Linked DNA regions of Homo sapiens: all the other regions are linked to region 6. Evidence: promoter capture Hi-C in 16 types of primary human blood cells and fetal thymus (Javierre and others, 2016). All regions are on one chromosome and are shown on one strand. The core of a region is centred on a gene start or on the middle of the fragment in contact, and the rest is flanking DNA. Distances in the headings are between cores, read along the strand shown. Region 1 has its middle 54 kb from the start of LINC01878. Region 2 overlaps IKZF2 (IKAROS family zinc finger 2). Region 3 has its middle 59 kb from the start of MIR4776-1. Region 4 overlaps IKZF2 (IKAROS family zinc finger 2). Region 5 overlaps IKZF2 (IKAROS family zinc finger 2). Region 6 holds the start of BARD1 (BRCA1 associated RING domain 1). Region 7 overlaps LOC102725082 (a long non-coding RNA gene).

Evidence for each region. Contacts are between HindIII fragments. The CHiCAGO score rates a contact against its expected background, and 5 or more counts as called.
Region 1: a contact is called between a fragment that was not itself captured here and the fragment with the promoter of BARD1 in region 6, in 1 of 17 cell types (fetal thymus). The highest score is 5.1, in fetal thymus.
Region 2: a fragment that was not itself captured here is called in contact with the fragment with the promoter of BARD1 in region 6 in 1 of 17 cell types (naive B cells); the score reaches 5.9 in naive B cells.
Region 3: a contact is called between a fragment that was not itself captured here and the fragment with the promoter of BARD1 in region 6, in 1 of 17 cell types (fetal thymus). The highest score is 6.3, in fetal thymus.
Region 4: a fragment that was not itself captured here is called in contact with the fragment with the promoter of BARD1 in region 6 in 1 of 17 cell types (total B cells); the score reaches 8.4 in total B cells.
Region 5: a fragment that was not itself captured here is called in contact with the fragment with the promoter of BARD1 in region 6 in 2 of 17 cell types (total B cells and fetal thymus); the score reaches 7.4 in total B cells.
Region 7: a fragment that was not itself captured here is called in contact with the fragment with the promoter of BARD1 in region 6 in 1 of 17 cell types (erythroblasts); the score reaches 5.3 in erythroblasts.

Annotation. Positions count from the first base shown.
Region 1 is chr2:212,847,586-212,850,651 of GRCh38, reverse strand. No RefSeq gene overlaps it. Among named protein-coding and RNA genes, the nearest start is that of LINC01878, 54 kb to the right of the region's middle. The HindIII fragment of the contact is 1,173 bases long and covers 702-1,874 here.
Region 2 is chr2:212,998,211-213,001,417 of GRCh38, reverse strand. IKZF2 (IKAROS family zinc finger 2) reads left to right here. Exons shown (of 9, transcript NM_001387220.1): 9 at 1-1,720. Among named protein-coding and RNA genes, the nearest start is that of MIR4776-2, 73 kb to the right of the region's middle. The HindIII fragment of the contact is 4,483 bases long and covers 1-3,207 here.
Region 3 is chr2:212,865,738-212,868,606 of GRCh38, reverse strand. No RefSeq gene overlaps it. Among named protein-coding and RNA genes, the nearest start is that of MIR4776-1, 59 kb to the left of the region's middle. The HindIII fragment of the contact is 2,829 bases long and covers 1-2,780 here.
Region 4 is chr2:213,016,220-213,019,322 of GRCh38, reverse strand. All of the region lies in intron 7 of IKZF2 (IKAROS family zinc finger 2), which reads left to right. Among named protein-coding and RNA genes, the nearest start is that of MIR4776-2, 91 kb to the right of the region's middle. The HindIII fragment of the contact is 190 bases long and covers 1,166-1,355 here.
Region 5 is chr2:213,034,665-213,037,614 of GRCh38, reverse strand. The region is part of intron 6 of IKZF2 (IKAROS family zinc finger 2); the gene reads left to right. Among named protein-coding and RNA genes, the nearest start is that of MIR4776-2, 110 kb to the right of the region's middle. The HindIII fragment of the contact is 1,689 bases long and covers 465-2,153 here.
Region 6 is chr2:214,808,104-214,811,023 of GRCh38, reverse strand. BARD1 (BRCA1 associated RING domain 1) reads left to right here and starts at 1,341. Exons shown (of 11, transcript NM_000465.4): 1 at 1,341-1,612. The coding sequence starts at 1,455. It overlaps SNHG31 (small nucleolar RNA host gene 31), which reads right to left and starts at 795. Exons shown (of 4, transcript NR_110292.1): 1 at 592-795. RefSeq lists a silencer at 863-1,432 and enhancers at 1,983-2,062, 2,353-2,402. The HindIII fragment of the contact is 4,673 bases long and covers 614-2,920 here.
Region 7 is chr2:212,978,957-212,982,084 of GRCh38, reverse strand. LOC102725082 (a long non-coding RNA gene) reads left to right here. Exons shown (of 4, transcript XR_007088066.1): 1 at 1-3,128. Among named protein-coding and RNA genes, the nearest start is that of MIR4776-2, 54 kb to the right of the region's middle. RefSeq lists a silencer at 853-1,053. The HindIII fragment of the contact is 3,660 bases long and covers 1-3,128 here.

The DNA of each region.
Region 1 (3,066 bases), core at 39-2,538, 2.0 Mb after region 6:
GCATCATTTCACAGAACCCAGGAAAACAGTTTACTTACTAGTGTTAATTTATTGCAAAGGGTATTTTAAGGATACAGTTAAACAGCCAGAGGAAGAGATATTTAGGTCAAGGTCTGGAAGGGCCCCAAACATAGAAGCCTCTGTGCCACACTCTCCCAGCAGGCAGATGTGTTCTCCAACATGTAAGCTCTCTGAACCCCATAGTTTAGTGATTTCTATGTCGACTTCATCACATAGGCATGTTTGATTTTTAATCTCCAGCCCTTCTCTTCTTCCCAGAGGTTCGGGTGCAAGAGCTGAATGTTTCAAGCTTCTAATTATAGTTTGGTGTTTCTGGTGATCAGCCCATATCTAGGAGCCCACAAAAATTGCCTCATTATAATAAATGATGCTCCTATCAACCAAAAAATCCTAAAGGATAGAAGCTCTGTGTCAGGAACCGGGTCAAAGACCAAATATTAGGACAAAAGATACATCCAGCACCCCTACTGGTCAGGAAATTACAAAGGTTTTAGACACTGTATGCCAGAAGCCAGGGGCAGAGACCAAACATTTAATTTTTGTTATGTCACAAGCTTACCAGATAAATCTTCCTGAATCGGAATTTGATTCATATTCTCCAGCTGGCCCTATCCTTAGCCTTCCTGGCCTCTCAAGCTTTAATGGACCTTCCATTGCTCATTGATTCAAGTCCAAAAGCTTAAACTTCTTGACCTTTGCAATCTGTCCCCATCTATTCCTCAAATCATTTGTTCTTCAGTAGCAATAATATTTCTGTTGATCTTCATGATTTTCTGCACTGTTTTTGTGTCCTGAATTGAGTTCTATTAACCCCTCATCTTCATTTTATTTGCTTGTTTATTTAGTAAGTAAATAGTTTTCAACATCTCCTGTAGTTCTAACAGGAGGTAAGTGATTCCCACTTGATAATTTACCTGCCTTACAGGTAATGCATTCTTTGTCTACCCCAAACACAAGCTGCTCCATCTCCACACCCAACTCCCAAACATGACAGTTTCCTGAAGGTAAATGTGACCTTGCTCATAAAAGTGCACTTCTTTTTATTTATAAAAATATTTTTTTATAAGAGACTATGCTCTACTAGTACTTTTTGGTCAACTTTTTTTTTTTTTTTTTTTTTCCTTTCTTTAACATAGGCTTTCTGGGCGGGTAATCTGTGAGGCAGACAAGCATGTCACTACCTTCTTACAGAAATTACTGCACACATAGTGAATGGTATACTCTGGGGCCTCTCCTGGCTTCTTACCCTTTCTGCTTGCACAATAGTTCAGTCTCTACTTTCCTAAGTATGAAAGAACTTCCTTATGTGTGCATGTATTTGATGCCCAAGGCCCTATTCTTTAGCTAGAATTTTAAAGCTGGCTCATGCTTCTGTGTTATGTGAAGAAATAATTAAGGATGCACCTACGAGGATTTTGTACTCTGCAGGGTCCGGAAAGAAAGGAAGTGCTCTGATGGAAGCCCTCCTGGGTCTGGACACCTTTCATTGCACCAAGGCTGTTGTCCTCCAAGAGTTTTATATTAAACTTTCTTTTATCCAGCTCCGCTGGTTGCTTTTCTAATCATCTGAGTTTTAATAAATATAATTTCCCTTGTTTGTTCTGCCTGTAAAATACATTTTTAACAATTGTTTGAATTTTACACTTAAATATTTATTTTGGCCTAATTCTTTCTACTAAATTTTAAACATTGTTTAAATTATCACCTTTTCTAGAAATTACATGTAGCTTCCTGAGAATTTTAAAAGAGAATAAGAACAAAGTAAATATGAACTAATTTGCAAAACACCAGTTGATATTGTAACTTTTTATGCATAAGTGTCTTTTTCTTCCTTTCTAACATGATTGAAAGCTTCATGTGGGTAATCACCAATCATATTTTATATATTTTTTTGTATCCATCACTAGCACCTAATAGGGCCATGGAGATAGTAGACACTCAGTAAATATTTGTTGGCTTTTTGGTTCAGAAACACAATCAACCAGTGTTTTGAAAATGGACTTTTCATAACCTTCAGCTTCAAATAAATCATACTAATTTATTGATCTTAGAATTTAACCAAACCTCATTTTTTTTATTGCTTCCTAGAACAAACTTTTGGTTCTCTCCAACTCTCCAAATTTGAATGAAATTCTGTTGGTTTGATCTTGACTGTTATCTAGATCTCCACATGTTAATAGGAACGAAGTGTTAACTTGCCCGAATTATGAATGATTTCATCTAGTACCATACAGCTAGGAAATCATGAATAATCTTGTCCCTTGAATTTATAATAAATACATTTCAACTATCTTCTATATAGAGGCTTATCTGCAATTTTTAGAGATCAGACTAAAGCTACAGGCTCTTTGGGGTGTATCTGTGTACTTTTAAAATGTTTGATTAGGGAAGTTACTCAAAAAATGTATCTCTTTGCTAATAAATAAAAGTATAATAATGAATCCTGAAGGGAAAAATTGGAGATGAATTTAGAATGTTGTATATGCAATTGAAATTTTGAGTTAATAATTTAGGTAATATTTTAAGGCAAATCACTTGAAAAGTCCACATGAAATCCATGTCAAATAATTGTTAGGAAATAGAAAATGTATGTTAATATGCATGACATCTTCATGAAACCAAGTCATTTTTTTCTGATCTACTCTGAGCTTCAGAATGGGGACAAGATTTAAACTTCAGAATCTGAAGAAGCTTTTTAAAAAGCAAAAAAAGTTTGCATGAAAATTTTATTTAACTTAAAGTTCAATCAATATGAAATAATATTCATTGCAAGTAAGTCAAATCATAAATATTGTAAAGCCTCTGCTAATCCTGTGCTTGCTGCCATAAAGCAGACATGAAAAATAAAATAAAAAGGCAAATATTTGTTCTCATAGTTTATTCCTATTAAAGGAAAAAAATTTTTAAACAATAAAAAGTGAAATAATAAAAAATATCCCTCAAGATTAAAAACAGAAGACATATCACAGGGCAATATTTATTTGCAAGCATATTCTTTGATCTAGTCCTGTGTTTAACCATATGTCATTCCCTTCTTTTTTACCT
Region 2 (3,207 bases), core at 377-2,876, 1.8 Mb after region 6:
TTGGATTTTACATTCTGATTTGGCTTTCCTCCAAAAAATGTATATCATGAAAGACTAGACAGTTATTTGCAAGTGTTTAGAAAGGTGTTAAAAATGTAAAGCAAAGAGTCTTAACTTTCTCCTAATTGGGAGAAAAATGCTTTAACATTACTATAATAATATTCCAGGTTTGGAGGGGGTCTCCAGGCCCCATATTTGCTGTTAATAGTTGGACCTTTTAGACCATGTGTTATTTGCAATCCCAGAATGATTGCTTCTGCTATTAGTTAAAAAGATACTATTCTTTTCTTTCTGTACAAGTGCAATACTCCCCTTGAAGTCTTAAAAACTATGGTGATTTTTTTTTCTTTTCTGACCTATTCTTCCTTTAGCTAATGACAAAAAGAAACTCATAAAAGTCATAGTATGTTAAAGGACACAACAAGCAAAGAGAAAAACACTCCACAATCAAAAGATTACAGAATGTGGAAACCACTAGTCTGATCTCATGGTATCTTTATTTAAGCTAAATTTCCATGGAAATTAGTAATCTTTTGCTTGAAAAATGTGTCCTAAAGTTGAACTTTTTACAGATTGAATCTTCTTAGACCCTCGCCCAATGCTCTAAATTAAGAACCTAATACTTAATATTTTTATTTTACTTCTCCCCTTTTAGAAATAAACTTTTAAATAAAAGCAAAGCACTTAGCTGAGTTTTAAACACTTACATATCACCTATTGGAGAAATTTTTTTTAAAAATATTTGGAGCAGTCCTGTTTTCATACAAATTTAAGTAAGAGGTATTTTTCTTATACATATTTATATGTAGTGTGCTAATTTTCTTTTTTTATACCTGTGTCCCTGTAGTAAAACTGCTGTAATATAAATACATGTTTTGTTAAAAGATAACATTTCTTTGGCATTTCTTTTAAAGGCAGTTACTGCATTTCTGCATTTGTACAGTATGTGTCTTGGCCATTTTAGATATTCTTTCTTTAACAATACCAAAGGTAATTAGACTATTTTAAAGACTAATTGCTTGACAGTTTCTAGGGTATTTTGTGTTTTAGAAGCAAAAAAAGAAAAAAAAATAGGTCAAACCAGTAAACCTCATTTTTTTTCAAACTAATAATTTGGGGAAATAAAAACTATTGTTTAAAAAAGAAATATATATATATATATATAAATATATATGTAAAGTTAAAATTCCATACCTTGTATGTCAGGTTTGCTAAGTGTAATGTAGTTTTTTTAAGGCTCAAATACCATACCTCAGAAAATGAGGTTTACTATGGAAATACTGAAACAGTCTTTGCAGCTGTGTGACAAGTCACTCTACTACATACTGATTTGGAGACCTCCGCTAAATAGTTTTATCACTGCAGACTAAAATGTGGGACTTGTATCTTCTTTGTTTTTAATGCACACACATACATGTTCTGTGCATGTATGTGGTTACTGTGTATATGTGTATGAGTGTTGTATATGCATGTGTGAGTGTGTGTCTGTATGTGTGTACAACTAAAGAAGCTGCAGAAACTTTGTAATACTTTGTGAAAAGGATTATATTATAAAGGTTTGTACTGTCTGAGTGCACAGCTACTGGAATAAATTTAGGGAATCTCAGGAACAAGCATATAATTTGTCCAAGATTTATTTCTTCTCAGAAGTGTAAGTGCAGTTTTTAATTCTGTATATTATTTAATATTTTACCAATAAAATAAACTTCTGACATAAAAAGTTTGCTATAAAAACTTTCTGGTGAAAATTCTGTACACAAACATGTCTTCCAAATACAGAAGACTAAATTGTTGACTATACCAGGCTTAAATTATCATTGCCATTGTGTATTTGTCACACTTCCAGTTCCAGAGGTTTGGATACATGTGATATCTGCAATCTACATCTCAATCGTTAGTCATCTCCATCATTACTATATAGTCCACCAGAGCAGAAAACAAAGTATTACATGATTTGTTAAGAATGACATCTCTGCTCTTTAGACAGCTTTCATACATATCTTATTTCACTTTTAAAAAAGAGGAGTGTACATCAGAGCCTATCCCCTTTCTATATAAGAAAATAGACCTTAGGAAAGAAAATTGTGACTTACTCCAAAGAGCATAGTAGTGCACTTAAATTACACAAGAGGTCTGAGTGCTCTGATCTGGTCAATAACACTACTAGAATACACTACTGCTATAGAAACCAGTATTTCTTAGAAGTCAAAGATAAAATTAAGAAGTCATAGCGATTGTTCAATCACACTGGCAAAAACTGGTTGCCAGTTCTGCTTCATGTTGTACAATCACTACGTGAGTCATACACATCTCTTTGTTTCTTAGATTTTACAAATGTAATTTATCTTTTGCCATGAGAAGTTTGTTCTGTTATAAACATCTTCATAACCAGAAATGCAAAAGGGCATATATGACTGCAAATTCATTTTATTGAGTGTTAGCTAGCCACTATCCTTCAGGCCAGTTTGAACTCCACCATCACATTTGAGATAGCTGTTAGAGTTTTTCCTCACTGATATGTATTTATAGAATTTCATGGATACTTACCACATTCCCCAGTAATTTCACTTCCATGTGTCACACAGAATGAAAAATACCATAAATTCAAATGAAATTTTCCTGCCTTGACTGTATCATAATTCAAAATACTAACCTAATTTGGGCAGGGGAGGTTGTGAAGCAAGTGAAATAGCAAAGCAAAAAGAAGAAAAACTTACCAAATCATCCTCCAGTATTAAATTTATAAAGGATTCCTTCAAGATCAGCAAGGAATGTCAAATTCCCCTGGTGTATTATATCAACAGGAGCCAAATGAAAAGGATTTCTTGAAAAATGTGCCATATGCTCTTGACTTTTCAATTGCAATATGGTCAGAGAAATTATAAATAATTTAAATCTTGATATGATTGTAAGACTTTTTATCAGCATGCTCAAGCCAGAAGACTGTTCTTGGGGTGTGAACCACATGGTGAAAGCATTTCATCTAGCATTTTAGCAACCCTCCCTCCTGCTATTAGGGGGTTCCAAATGGACCCGTTAAACTTCCAGGAAAATCCCCTTTTTTGTTAACACCCCTACTGAAATTTCCTGGTGTGTTTATTTAACTTCTCACTAGAGGTTCCAGTGAAGGTAACAATTGGTGAATTTGAATTTTCCTACTTTTCTCCTGTTTGGCACAATACCCAAGGGAGAGGTTTCAATAAAATA
Region 3 (2,869 bases), core at 117-2,616, 1.9 Mb after region 6:
TTAATTCATTTACTCATTCACTTTTGTTTTTGTTCAATTTTATTGAGTCCTGATTATGCACTGGGCCCATAAATGCTCCTTCTGTTCTGTTCCCACTAAACTTTTCTATTCAGTTATAACAGTGTTCTTATTATGCCATAATTTGTGTTTTTTTTTCCTGTCTTCTTTTTAAAAATACTTAAAGACCTTTAAGGACAAGAGCTATATCTTTTAATCAAATCCTCACAGCTTAGACTAGTGCCTGGCACATAATAGGTACATATTCAATAAGTAATTGAATGTGTGAACTTACCTAGAAGAGTAGGAAAAATTAAAGAGGCACTTGGGTTGGGATTATTCTAATAGGGGTTACCTATGCTATGCTCCTGCCAAGACCCAACCCTGTATACTCTTTGCCTGTTCCTCTGTAGAGAAGCACTGAGCAATCATACTGAGTAGTTGTTGTTTTGTCCTCTTCCTTCCATGTGAGATAGCTCTTCATTTCATCTGATTGGTACTGCCCACTTAACACTCAGAACAGTAGAGGAGCTAGTTGTCTAGAATCCTTATTAGTAAAGAGAAACTTGGGATGAAATAATATCAGAAGATACTCAGTAGTAGTTGTGCAGATCCAGATAACTTTTGAGAACCATTTTTCTCTTCCCATTTTTGGGAAAATAAGATTCATGCCACTTTTTGCATTGTTACTTTGCCTTCCCACAGCCAATAAATAGGTAACTGGTTGCCGTGAGGAGTAACTATTTTCCTGATTAATTGGATGCATTAGGAGATGCTGATGTGTAGTGGGAATCTTAAAACATACTACATATTCCTGTTGCCAAAATATATTCATAGATGGTTTATTTTCTTTATTTTAAAGGAGACTCATGGAATGCTGAAGCACATATGGAACTTTGCACAGTGCTTTCATTCATTTCCAGCTATGTTTATGCACTTTTGTTTTTGTGGTAACATTTGGGTGGCTCCCAAACATAATTATTATACCATTGTTTGAAGTTTTGATTCAAGAATGAATTTGAAAAATAGCTGTAATACCTGGTGCCATTTATATAATATACTAATATGCTCTTATTGTGGCATTCTGGTTAATGAAAAGCATTAAATTAATGTATAAATCAAAGGGAAAAACAAAACTGAAATTACAAGCTCACCATAATGTAATTAAAAGCAGTATGTCTCATATCAAGTTATGGTAAATAGCAAAATTTACCAAGAAGACAATTTACAGCCTTAAATGCCTTTATTGTTAATAAAAACAATTAAAGAGTAAGAGATAGTGACCATCTTAAGAAATGTGCAGAATAACAACAAAAAAGAACAAAAGAATTTAGAGAAAGAGAATTAGTAATATTAAGGTGAAATTAATTTTAAACACTTTAAAAATTAATAGAAAAGACCAACATATCAAAAAATATTTATTTCAAGACTATCAAATAAATTATTTGACTGTTATTAAAAGTGAAAAACAAAATGAAACAAAAAGTGAAAATAAAATTGAGAAAGGAGACATAACTCTAAGTGCAGAATAAACTTAATTAATTATACATTACTAAATACAAATTAATATTCAAAACTTTAAAAGCCAAAGATGTTGATCTCTTAACAAAATGTAAATGACCAAGATTGATTCAAGAAAAAGTGAAAAAAATGGAATGACCCAAATAAATATAATAGAAGCAATAAAAAGATTTGCCATGTAGAAAGGCAACAAAACCAGTTTCACAAATAAGTTCTTTCTGACCTTTACAGAAAATAAAATTTCAAAGATTCTTAAATTCTTCCAAGTAATGAGAAGAAAGTGGAAATCTTTCTAATTCATTTTTAAAGCTAGTATAACATATAGTTTGGACATTTGTCCCCGCCCAAATCTTATGTTGAATTATAATCCCCAATGCTGGAGGTGGGTCCTGGTGGGAGCTGTTTGGATTATGTGGGCAGATCCCCCCGACTTGGTCCTAGCTTCATGATAGTGAGTCCTCATGAGATCTGGTTATTTAAAACTGTGTGGCACCTCCCCTCCACCCCACTTTCTCTCTCTTGCTCCCACTTTTGCCATGTGATGCGCCTGCTCCCCTTCATCTTCCGCCATATTATAAACTTCCTGAGACCTCCCTAAAAGCCAAGCAGATGCCAGAACCATGCTTCCTGTACAGCCTGCAGTACCATGAGTCAATTAAACATATTTTCTTATAAATTACCCAGTCTCAGGTATTTTACAGTAATGTAAGAATGGCCTAATAAAATAGCAACAATGTTAAAGCTGACAAATATACTATAAAAAGAAAAATATAAAATATAGTTTGCAAATATAGATGCAAAAATTCTAAAGAAAATATTTACAAATAGAATCTAGAAATATATTGAAAACTAAGTAGATTTTATTTTAAGAATACAAGGATGGTTCAATATCTGGAAATCAATCAACATCATTTATTACATAATTTTGTTTAAAGGGAACCATATGACTAAACCATTAAATGCTAATAAGTATTTCAGACAATCAAATAGCCATTTCTAACAAAAATATAAGTGAAATAAGAAGGAAACTGCATAAATAAGATATTGGTTTCCCCAAATCCAATATCTAGTGATTATTCTGAGTTGTTAAACAAGAAAAGTATTTCAATTAAAATCAGATATTACACAGGGATACCTGTTATTACCACTGCAACATTGGGAGATTCGAGGGAATGCAATAAGTTAATAAAGTGAAGTAATTGATATAAAGGCTATTGGTGGAAAAATTGTGCATTTGAAAATTCAAATTATATGTAAAAGCTTCTTAGAAAAAATGTGGCATGGTATCTGCATAAGAAACAAATATAAAAAAAGTGTTTTCTTAGAAATAGAAATATGTAATTTCCTCATA
Region 4 (3,103 bases), core at 11-2,510, 1.8 Mb after region 6:
TATTTGTTTTCCTTTTTTGTGGTAGATATGAGAGTTGCTGTCATTTTGGTTGCCATTAGCTCCATGAAATGATTTAACTATTACTTGTTTTTAAAAAATATCTGACATAGTTATATTTCCTAGTCTTTCTTTTCTAAAACATGTTTTTCCCTGTGTTGTTCTTCTAGTATGGAATTTTTTAAAGGAAAAGAGGCATTTTCACTTTACTCAGAAAACATTTATCAAGAGCTTACTATGTGCCAAGTTATATAGAACATTCTGGGGTATAAAAATAAATGGACCCAGTCTTTTAATACACTTACTTTATAGTCTGGTAGGAAATACATACTTTAAAAAAATAAAATAAAATGAAACAAAAGCTCTAATAAGGATGCATACACAGTTCTCTGGGAACATAGATGTAGAATTAACCTAACTCTGGAAAAGTCAAGAGAGGCTTCTTACATGCAGGAGTGTTCAATCCAAACATGAGGGATGAGTAAAAATTGCATATATCAGGCAGGATACAGAGAATGTATATTCAAGGAGAAAAAGAGGCTTGGAGATATAAAAGATAATTAACAGCTTCCCTGATGTTGAGTGTAACTGCAGTTTAAGGAGTGGTAGGAAATGAAGCTTCTGAATTAGTAGGTTGTGATGCAAAGACAGAGTCTTCTCTGCTAAGCTAGTGTTTGAATTTCATTGTGTAACTGATGGGGGGCCACTAGGGTAACCAAATTTGTTATTAATGAGGTAATCAAATCAAGAAAAATGTCTCCAATGAGGATACATGATAAATGCCTACCTGGGGCAGGGGGTATGGTGTGAGGAGAGACTGGAAATGACAATGCCAAAAAGAAAAAGATGAAGAGGCAACTGCAGAAGAGAACAAGGTGAAATATTGAAGACATATTTAGGAGGTAGAATAAAATGGTCTTAGAAAAGTTGATTGAGTTTGAGGAAAAAGGAGGAATATCATGACTCATAGTTTTGGAAATAATAATTGAGTTTTATGACAGATTATTTATATAATTAAATTATTTAATTGGGTTTGATGAGCTTATTTATTTTATTGGGTTTTAGGGCAGATTATTTATCTTATTTAATTAGGTTTTATGGCAGATTATCTTGTTCAATATTATCTTTATGTTGCTTTTTCAAGTCTGCTTAGCTTGAAGGAAAAGCTTTAAAATCAAACTATGTTATTACCTGTTTTACCTAAACCTAAAGACAAAAATGAAAGTGCAAAGCAGAAGGATAGCCAGCTTAAAATCTATATATATTGTTAGGTTTATGCTTTGAATTGTTTAGGAAAGGGAGGTTCTTTTTCACAGTATAGAGGCATTATTGGGCACCCCCAAACTTTGGAATAAGCTTTTTTGACTTATTTCTATTGGGTGACATCATTCAGTGAACATCCATTGAATATTATATCTCTCTTGTATCATAAAAGGTATTAGAGACACAAATACAACAGAATGCAACCCCTGAGGTTATTTACCAGCTATTGGAAGATAGACCAGTAAAACAACAATTATAGTACTATGTGATAAGCATTATGGAGACAGAGAGGACATACCTAAATCAGCAGAACATCCAAGAGGAATTTCCCGGGATTGAGCTTAGTTTTAAAAAGCAAAAATGTGAACTAATAAATGGAGAAGGGTGTTTCCTGCAGAAAGAACAACATATGTGAACAACTACCAATGTAGCATCTAAAACACTTGGGGTACCTCCATGTGTGTTTGTAAAGAGATGTGGTAGGGAGGAGGAGAGGCAGAAGACTGGATGAAAGGAAGAAATCTAGGATTTTCCACAGGTGACCAGCATGGCTGATGGAGTAAATAGTAGTGTCATTCAGTGATATGGTAATTAGTAGTGTCATTCAGTGATATGGTAATTAGGAAAATAGAAGAAAGAAAGGTAAATGGAGATTTTACTTCTTTTACTATATTCTTTTATGTCTCCATGAAATAGGCAAATAAAACTGTCTAGGAAGATGTTAAATATATAGATCTCAAGCTCTTGAGAGGGGTCTGAGTAGGAAACAAAGATGCAGGATCCATCATAATTTATGTAGTGGCCCAACGTAGTAGTTTTTAATAAGGCAATACGGATAAGTACAGAGTGAGACATCAAGAAGGCCAAGAACACACTAGCAGGAAAAAAATTTCATGAAGATGAGTAAGAGCAGAGTAGGAACATGGAAAGAGTGATTTCACAGAAGCCAAAGCAAGTGTCAGCACTGCCAAATGCTGTCAAGAAAATAACTAAGATAACTGTAAAGTTTTTTTTTTAGATCGGGTAACACGGAGAAAATTTGCAACAATATAGAAGACATCTGTTGTTTTTGCCTGCCTGACATCCCTTCCTCCTTCTCTTGATAACAAGAGTGCCCATTTACCTTTAGAGAACTTTCCTGTTGCATGTAGCTGTGGTGGGACCCTCAGTCCAGGTACTCTGCCCTCTCCTGCTCAGGAGCTAGACATGTGATCTAACCTAGGTCCCTCAGACTTGGAATTTGAATTTGGGTGAACTGTTTGGTTTTTCAAAAGAATACATTGGGAATACACTTATGGTTTTGCCGTTATGGTTATCAACGTGATGAAACAGTGATCTAATGGAATTATGTTTTTATCTTGGTTATAACCTCAAATATAAGGTCAAAGAGGATGTTTGGTTATAAAGTTTGTTCAAACAGGGGAAGTTACCTTATTGGTATATCTTTAGCCCAGATTAATGTCTATGTGATTAATGCATTATTGAGATATCTAGAGAATTTGTTTTATGTTTCTAGCAATGTATACACAGAAATATTTTGATGAGTTGCACCCAGATCCATGAAGCAAAACAAAATCAGATTGGTTACATAATTAAGGAAAAATGTATCAGGTCTTTACCCAATGGCAGACCTTACAAATATGTCTGACTGGTTTACAAAAAGTCAATGCTCAAAATACCTCTACAAAGAGTAGTATAGCGTAATGGTTGAGCCAGGCTCTGGAGCCAGACTCCTAGTAGTAATAACATTCTCTACTAACTAGATGTAAACCCTGAGGAAATTACTTAACATCTCTGGGTCTTTCTGTTCTCATCTGTACAGTGAAGATGGTATTACACCTAT
Region 5 (2,950 bases), core at 60-2,559, 1.8 Mb after region 6:
TCATTCTTGACTCTTAAAACACACACTTGAGGTCCTACTCATTGAAATTTACCTAGAAGGTAAAAGCCACTTTCAGTCAGGCCGGCTGTAAGACAGCCCATTTGATTTCCACCAGGTAGAACGCCTCTTTCCCCCTACCCCAGACCAATAACCATTATGTATCTACTCTTCGTTATTGTTTCTAATAAAAGAAAGTAAAACTTTTAATAGCATATACAATCACATCTTTTATGAATTGTAGTAGTCATGCTTCTTTCAGACCCTATTTCTAGAAGGAATTAATAAGCCTTTCTTTTATAATTCTATGCAGCTCTTTTCACTTTGGTGCAAGTCATTTAGAAGATCAATTTATTGTAGGAAGCTTTCCTTCCTCCTTTATTATCAGGAGTTCTAAAGAAATGGACAAGATTCTTAGCTGCTTTCTCATTGTTCTGAATAATCTACACTGTCCTCATTCCAAAGCTTGCTACCACAGTTTTGTACCCTGCATGGATTTAGTGTGGACAGTCTTAACTTTGGCCATTTCACATTTTCCCTTCCACACCATGAGTCTGCAGGCCTGGCATGTTTGGAACTCCACAACAGAAGTGGAGAGGCTGCACGCAAACTTTATTACTCACCTAGTATCCAGAAGGGCATGACACACTGGGACTTGTGTGTGTGTGTGTGTGGTGTGTTTTGTTTGGATGTTTTTTTCTAACCTAACCTTTACCATTTCTTTCAATTTTTCCTACTTGATCTGTGTATGTGAGTCAAAGAAACCTGTTCATCCACAGCCTATACTATCTTGCCAAATACTGTAAGAAAACTCTCAAATGGTAGAAAATCAGACAAATAAGAAAGATAAAAACCAAGTATCATTCATCATAAGCATGTAAAATATATTTAGAATATAATTAAAGTTTTATGTAAGGTATCAGAAATCTATCAGAGTGGAGTCCTTTTAAATTGTATAGAAATATGATGATAATGATTATAAGCAACTGGATAAGAATAAAAGGTCCTAGATCCAGCATCTCAAAGAAGAGATTTTGCATCTTCATCCCTTATATACCATATTGATTGAATGAATTAATGGACAGATTATTTTATTTGAATATTCTTATATTAACTAGAAAGGTTTTAAAGATTCATGGAGGTCAATGGTGGTTGAGTATGTTTCCTAGTACATGATAAGTATTAGTCTATTACAAAAATTAAAAATTATGGGTATATTTAATAAGTTCTTATTTTGTGACAAGCATTATGTTAAGGGCCTTATTTTGCAGATAAGTAGAGTCAAGTTTAAAGAAAGAGATGTTACCTAATGTCCTCACGCAGTCATTTTACATATTACATGTATGCCTCCTCAGCTTATACAGATTATACTTTCACCTTATTTTTCTTTTATTTTCCATGGTTTGGCAACAATGTATTATTGGATTAGATTTCAAACACACACATACACACCCACAGCACAATAAAACAAGAATTGTATCATGCTCTTATAAACAAAAATCTATCATGAGGCTTGAAGACATATAGCAGCTTAGAACAAAATAAATCTAACAATAGTATAAATTATATTTGTGAGAGTACTTTAAAAATTATGATCTGATATAGCAAAAAAAATCATACCTTGATAACTATATGTTTACATTTTATCCAACTTCCAATATACTCATGAAAGCTGAGATATAAGCTCTGGTCTGTCTGAATCTAGGGTCTCTGCTCTCAGCCACTATACTCCTGCTTCCCAATCTATTCTCCAGATAGCAACCAGAATGTTACTTTAAAATCTGATTTAAACCATGTCACTCCTCTTCTTAAAATATTTTAATGGTTTTCCATTGCTTTTATAATAAAATCAAACTACTAATCATGGCCATTGGTGGTTCTGCCCACTTCTACTGTCTGATCTTCTACTACTTTACGCCTCACTCTGGGTTCTTTGCAACCCGAGGTTTCTTTATTCTTTCCTACTGTTTTTGAACTAATGGATGATCCTAGAAGTCAACACCTTCAGCGTTTTCCCAAGATCTTGGCATAGTTGCCTTATTATCTTTCAGATGTTAGTTTAAATGTCATCTCTTTGAAAATAGTGGCATCCATAAGCAACCTACCAGAAGCATCCCCTTAGTTCTATTTTGCTATCTCTATCTTAATAAAAAGCTTGAATCAGAATCTGTGGTTATGTTGGTGTTTAGTTTATACACATGTTGTCTGTGCCATCCCACCTCACTCGAATGTAAGCTCTGTGAGATTGTGGACTGCAAGACTGTCTTTGTGGAGCTTACATTTTAATAAGGGGAGACGGGCAAGAATCAGTTAAAAAATCATATAATATGTTAGAAGATGTTGACTGCTACAGGGAAAAAAAAAGATTTTCCACTTATTGATCATTTATTGTGTGTTAAGTACCTTGAGTTTTCCATATGGATTAAAAAAAATATATACTCACAGAAATGCTGTGAGTTAGGTACAACTATTTCCTAATTTAACGTAACCTAGGCTTCACACACAACTGGCATTAGGGTTAGAATTTGAGATCCAAGTAAGAAACCACATTCTGGATATACAAATACATATTCTTTATATGAATATTCCATAAGTTAGAGCAAGCTATTTGCTTCTGAATTGATTATTTTGGGAGCTGTTTGCTATCCAAATTATTTGCTTACTCATAAGCCTGAGTTCTTGTAATATAGAAAGTCAGATGAAAGGAAATACAAGCATAACTTCCTTTATTGTGCCTTACTTTATTGCACTTCACAGATAACTGCGTTTTTTACAAATTGAAAGTTTGTGGTAACCCTAATTCCAAGCAAGTCGGTTGATACCATTTTTCCAATGACACATGCTCACCTCATGTCTCTCTGTCACATTTAAATAATTCTTGCAATATTTCACATTTGCTCATTATTATGTCTGTTTTGTGATCTGTGATCTTTCTTGTTATTATTATAACTGT
Region 6 (2,920 bases), core at 92-2,591:
GGCCAGAGGAGGTTTTGACAAGAGGCTAGTCAAAGAGCAGAGAAAAACTTTAAGGAGTTTTAAGAAAGGGAAGTGCCACGATGAGTTTTGTGTTTGGAAATGTTTTAGGCGGCCACACCGCAGTCTCGGGACTGGCTGGGACCTGGATAGACACTTGGATATCAGCTAGAAAGCTACGACAGGAAACCAGGCGAGGACGAGGCAACTGGGGATGTTGTGGAGCAGAGACGGAGAGAAAATGGGTGCATTCGAGACAAGTTAGGGGGAAAAAATGCAAGGACTTGGAAATGAACTTGGGGCGCGGCAGGAAGGCATGACGGGTTGCTCTGTAGGTCTTATCTGTAAATTACGGCGATCAGTGAAAGATCTGGAGGAGGAAGGTGGACACACTCTCTAACAAAAAAAACCCTTTTTGAAATTTTATACCAATATTTTAAAAGTAAACCAGATCTTTTCAGACATGCCTTTGAGCTGATATTTGTTAACTAGTTAGAATTAGAAACTTTCCTTATTTTTACTCAGTTACAATATACGCCACAGCTGAGGTGAGAGGAAAGAAAAGGTTGCTTTCTTAGGAACAAAGAGTGGTACCTTCAGTATCGTGGGCAAAGCTTTTCCAAGTCCAACAGCAGTCAAAACAGCGCTTTTTATAAATAACACTCAGCTAAAAGTTTCTGGGTTTGTGATTGTTCCAACGGTTAAGCTCGGATGAGGGTCCCTGGAGTCGTAGCTCCCGGGAAACGTCGACTGGCTTTCCACCTGGACTTCATCCGTCCAGGCAGCCCAGAGGGGCTTCAGGCCCCGCCCGCTCTCCTGCCAACTACAGCCTCGCGACTGCGCTCAGCCTTCAGGCCCCGCCCCTTCGGTCAAGCGGCGTGCTCTCACTGCACGGCGCCTGGGCCCCGCGCGCCGGGACCTCGGTTTCAGCCGTCCTGTCCTGCCCCGAGGCCCCTAGGCCCCGCCCCTGGGCCCCGCGCGCCAGGACTTCGGTTTCGACCGTCCTGTCCCGCCCCGAGGCTCCTAGGCCCCGCCCCCTCTGTCCCCGGCGTGTTCTCGCGGCTCCGCCCCTAGGACCCGCGCGCCGGGACTTTGGCAAGTTTCAGCCGTCCGGCCCCGCCCCCTCGGTCCCACGGCTCTCGCGGCCCCTCCCCTAAGTCCCACACGCCGGGACTTTGGCAAGTTTCAGCCTCCAGCCCCACCCCTAGGTCCCGCCCACTCGGCCAGCGGCTGGCTCTCGCGGCCCCGCCCCTGTGCCCTGCGAGTCCCTATTTTGGGAGCATTGCGGCCGCCGTGCCCCGCCCCTCCCCGCGCGCCCCGCCCCTCTGGCGGCCCGCCGTCCCAGACGCGGGAAGAGCTTGGCCGGTTTCGAGTCGCTGGCCTGCAGCTTCCCTGTGGTTTCCCGAGGCTTCCTTGCTTCCCGCTCTGCGAGGAGCCTTTCATCCGAAGGCGGGACGATGCCGGATAATCGGCAGCCGAGGAACCGGCAGCCGAGGATCCGCTCCGGGAACGAGCCTCGTTCCGCGCCCGCCATGGAACCGGATGGTCGCGGTGCCTGGGCCCACAGTCGCGCCGCGCTCGACCGCCTGGAGAAGCTGCTGCGCTGCTCGCGTTGGTAAAGACGGAGCTTCTTGGGGGTGGCTGCGAGGGCACGGGTCGCACAGTTTCTGGGGGCGGCAGAATCTTTTCAAATCTTCCGTTTCCTCCTTCCGTTCCCGCGCTGCAGTCGGGTCGGCGTGCGGTTAGCACCTGCCGGGGGATATAGTATTAACAACTTCTGCTTCTCATTCACTTTATTTTTGGGCGACTTACCGGCCTCCCCTTGCCCTGAATCCAACTGAAACGGTAGTTTTTGAACTTCAGCGGGCTGAAGAACCGTCTGGAGGTGTGGCTAAAAAAATGTTCATCCCGGTCGCGCCTCCAGAGTTTGAATCGGGCTGGGGTGGGGCTGAGGCTTCTGCATTTTTTACCCGGCCCTGGATTACCCCGCTGCTTTCCGGGAGCTGTGGCGAATTGGGCTGGCGGGCCGCCCCGGAGACCCTCTAAATTAGAAGCAGCTGCCACTCTAAGTTAAACTGGCCTTTTTGACATTTTCTCCGTGCCAGCTTTTTCGAGTGAGATGGGATGGAGCATCGGATATCTACCATAGTTGTAGATTGAAGATGGCACGGAATTTCTCATTTTCTTAGTTTGCTCAAAAGACTGTATGTCTGGTGTCCCCGCTCTTAGTGATGCTGTTTATTGTTTTCCTTCATGCTGTCACATTATGGGAGTCCTCTCAGGGTTTTCATTCCGTCCAAAGACATTTTCATGAGTGTTACTTCTTGCTTTTTTTCGTGTAGCTCTTTCTAGTATACAAACCAAGAAGGTTTGTAAAACCCAAGAAAGGTTTGTCTCATTTTCATTTCTTCTGAAAAGCATTTTTATTGAGCACTTGCTGTGTGTACAGCTAAGTATTTCTGTATGAAGATCACTGGCAGTTTTTTTGTTATTTGTAGCTGTCAAAAGTTTATATCCTTTTTGGACTTTTTTCCCCTTTGATTTCTAACTTGCAGAACTTAAGTTACCTAGTTGCATAAAGTATAAGTAACACAACTTTTTCTTTTCTTTCCTTTTTTGAGACGGAGTCTCGCTCTGTCGCCCAGGCTGGAGTGCAGTGGCACGATCTTGTCTCACTGCAAGCTCCGCCTCCCGGGTTCACGCCATTCTCCTGCTTCAGCCTCCCAAGTAGCTGGGACTGCAGGCGCCCGCCATCATGCCCGGCTAATTTTTTGTATTTTTAGTACAGATGGGGTTTCACCGTGTTAGCCAGGATGGTCTCCGTCTCCTGACCTCGTGATCCGCCCGCCTCTGCCTCCCAAAGTGCTGGGATTACAGGCGTGAGCCACGGTGCCCGGCCAAACTTTTTCTTTAAAAATGAAAA
Region 7 (3,128 bases), core at 544-3,043, 1.8 Mb after region 6:
CCTGCTTCTCGATTGGTTATAAATGAGCTGTAGCTTCTATGCTTTCAGTCCATTTCCTTTCACAGACAAGTTTTACCAAAGAATAATTATCACTTGCTATTTCTATATCCTCACCTTTAGGATGTTAAAAAAAATTATCATAAAAACAATCTTTTCTATATATATGTGTGTGTGTGTGTGTGTGTGTGTGTGTGTGTGTGTGTATGTGTATATATATATATTTTTTAAATGTGTGAAAGTTTTAAAGTAAAATTTAAAAAAAACTCATAATCCAGCTGGCTGTGGTGGCTCATGCCTGTAATCCCAGCACTTCAGGAGGCTGAGGTGAGTGGATCACTTGAGGTCAGGAGTTTGAGACCAGCCTGGCCAACATGGCAAAAACCCATCTCAACTAAAAATACAGAAATTAGCCGGGCATGGTGGCGGGGGCCTGTAATCCCAGCTACTCAGGAGGCTGAGGCTGAGGAGAATCACTTGAACCCAGGAGGCGGAGGTTGCAATGAGCCTAGATCATGCCACTGCACTCCAGACTGGGCAATAGAGTGAGAGTCTGTCTCAAAAAAAAAAAAAAAAAGAAAAAAAATCCCCTCATAATCCAACCATTTACATATAAGCATATTGGTATGTATCTTTCTAAAAATTATCATACATATCTAATACATAGGTACATATTGTTTATTCACATATGGAATCATTCTACTCATATGATTTATAACTTTTTTCTAATTAATAATCTGTCATTGTCTTTCCATGTTATTAAATAGTTAACTACATAATTTTCACAGTTGCATAGTATCCCAGTGCATGGATATATAATTTATTTTAATCAATCTCACCAATGAGCATTTTGATTATTCTTATCTGTATTCATTTAACAAACACTCAATTCACTCTTCCTATGTGCCAGGCACTGTAATGAACACATTCTAGACATTGCTCCTGGAGGTCAGGCCAGGTCCAGAGCTAATTATATATAGGGACTGCCTCAGGACCACAGAGAAGATAAGACTCAAGGTACCAGACAATCTATACAGTGGCCAAGATAATAAGAAAAAATATATTGTTTCAAGATGCTTTCTTCCCACCTGTTATTTTTACAAATTTGTTTTGGTATCTAATCATTTGGGCTAAAAATGCCCTGGTTTATTTCTCATAGAGGCTATAAACCCCTAAAGGTTTATGAACTATATTAATCCTATAATGCTTCCTCCTCTGCTAATCATCTTGTGTATTCAACAAACTCTACTTGAACAACTAAGGTCATGAGCAACATAAACCTACCATGATTAAGAATCATTTCAAATAGCTACAAATAATTTTATAGGCTTATTTTTTTAAAAAGATAACCCGTTTCATTTTGAAATTCTGATTTCTTGGTTCTATTATGGACTAAAATTCTAAGGGTAAAAGCAAATAAAATCCCAGGGAAACCTGCTGTTTTTACAGTCATGGCCATAATCAGAACAAATTTTGGTGAACTTAGGACTTTACAAATTTTAATAATTATATTGTAAAACATAATTCTAAATCAGTTGTATCATCAAATCAGAGCAGTAAGAAAGTGGAAGCTGCTATAATTGTAATGTATTTTTAAAAACTTGAAATGAAAACACAACTTTAAAAAGCAAGTCAGAGTATATCGTGCATATGCTTCAGAATAAAGATAAACACACCATTTAAAGAGCTGCTTAAATTAAAATGTCATTTCTTTCAAGTTCTCTGTTAATAGCCCATCCAGTTAGCTATTGTCCTGAAATTTTAGACTTAGGCAATTAGCCTGTTCAGGTCACCTAAACTTTCTAGATATTTAAGTCTCCATATTTGAAAGAAACACAGCCATGTTATCTAAATAGACAAGTCTAGCAATTTCAAAGTTCAGGTAGACATAGAACATAGAAGAGGGAATTATCACTACATTAGTGGTTTGCCACTACTCCATAACTCAGCCCCTGACTTCCCTGTCCCCTTCCTTCAGCCCCGACACCCCTCCACCCCATCCTAGTCTATAGACAAACAAGCTCTCCAATCTAATTCTTATCAAGATAGAAACAAGGCCAGACCTGCTCTTCTAGATAAAATGCCTTGGCTTCTAACTGCCTGGCTGCTTATCTTTCATCTTGCAGTGTTAACCATAACCCCTTTCCTGACCTGCTCTACTTCTTGTTTTCAGATGAGCAGTAAGGACTGGGGGAAAAACATGCTTAAATGAACAAGTTCACTCTCTCACATCCCTCTCCATTCCCTTTAAAGTCAATTCAAAATATCTTTCCAAAATTATCAGAAATCACATTGTGTGCATTACATGTAACTCGGTATATTTCTAAATCTCTCTTTTCCAACTTTTACTCTTTCTACGCTATACTGCCACATATATCTTTTCCTAAAAATTAAAAATGTTATGTTTTTTTTTTTTGGTTGTGGGATTAGGTTTTCTGAGGAATGGTAGGTTTTGTAAGGGTTTTTTTTTTTCCCCTCCTTTTATTTTTTCTCATTTGTTTGCCTAGATCTGAATAAGCTGAATCATCTTCTCACCTAAGCTGTTTGGTTTGGATACCCGAATTTTTTTGCTTTCATCCAAACAAAGTATTGCACTTGTCTTTCCTGAGCAGGTGAAAGTTAATGCAATATAGACCTTGAGCAGTCAGGCAATGTAACTGCTATGTTTGGACTAGCTTGCTGTGTGAGGTTAGCCTTCCTTGACCCTTGTTCCTTATACATGAAGTGGGAAAAAGAAAAATAAGCTAGGTTCCTTCTGTATGTGAGAATCCTAGGAAACTCTATTGTCCTATATTTTGAAGCAGCTATTAAGTTGAATGGTGTGAGATTACACAGGGTGCTTGCTGGTGTTGTAAACACCACGATCTGGTTTATGACACCTTTATCCCACAAACACTCTTGCACTTGAACCTGCATGTCCTTGAAAATATGGGAGTCTTTTCAAAAGAGTTTGAGCTTCTTGTAAGAAAACCATTCTACTAATATAAGGTGTAACTTTTACTTTTTAGCATTTAAAACTAAGTCTACATTACACATCAGAAAATGATCTGATAGATACCCTGTTTTGATTCGGGTCTTCCATTTTATTTTCTTAGCCTAAAAAAGATCGAATCCAGAATTATACGGCTTCT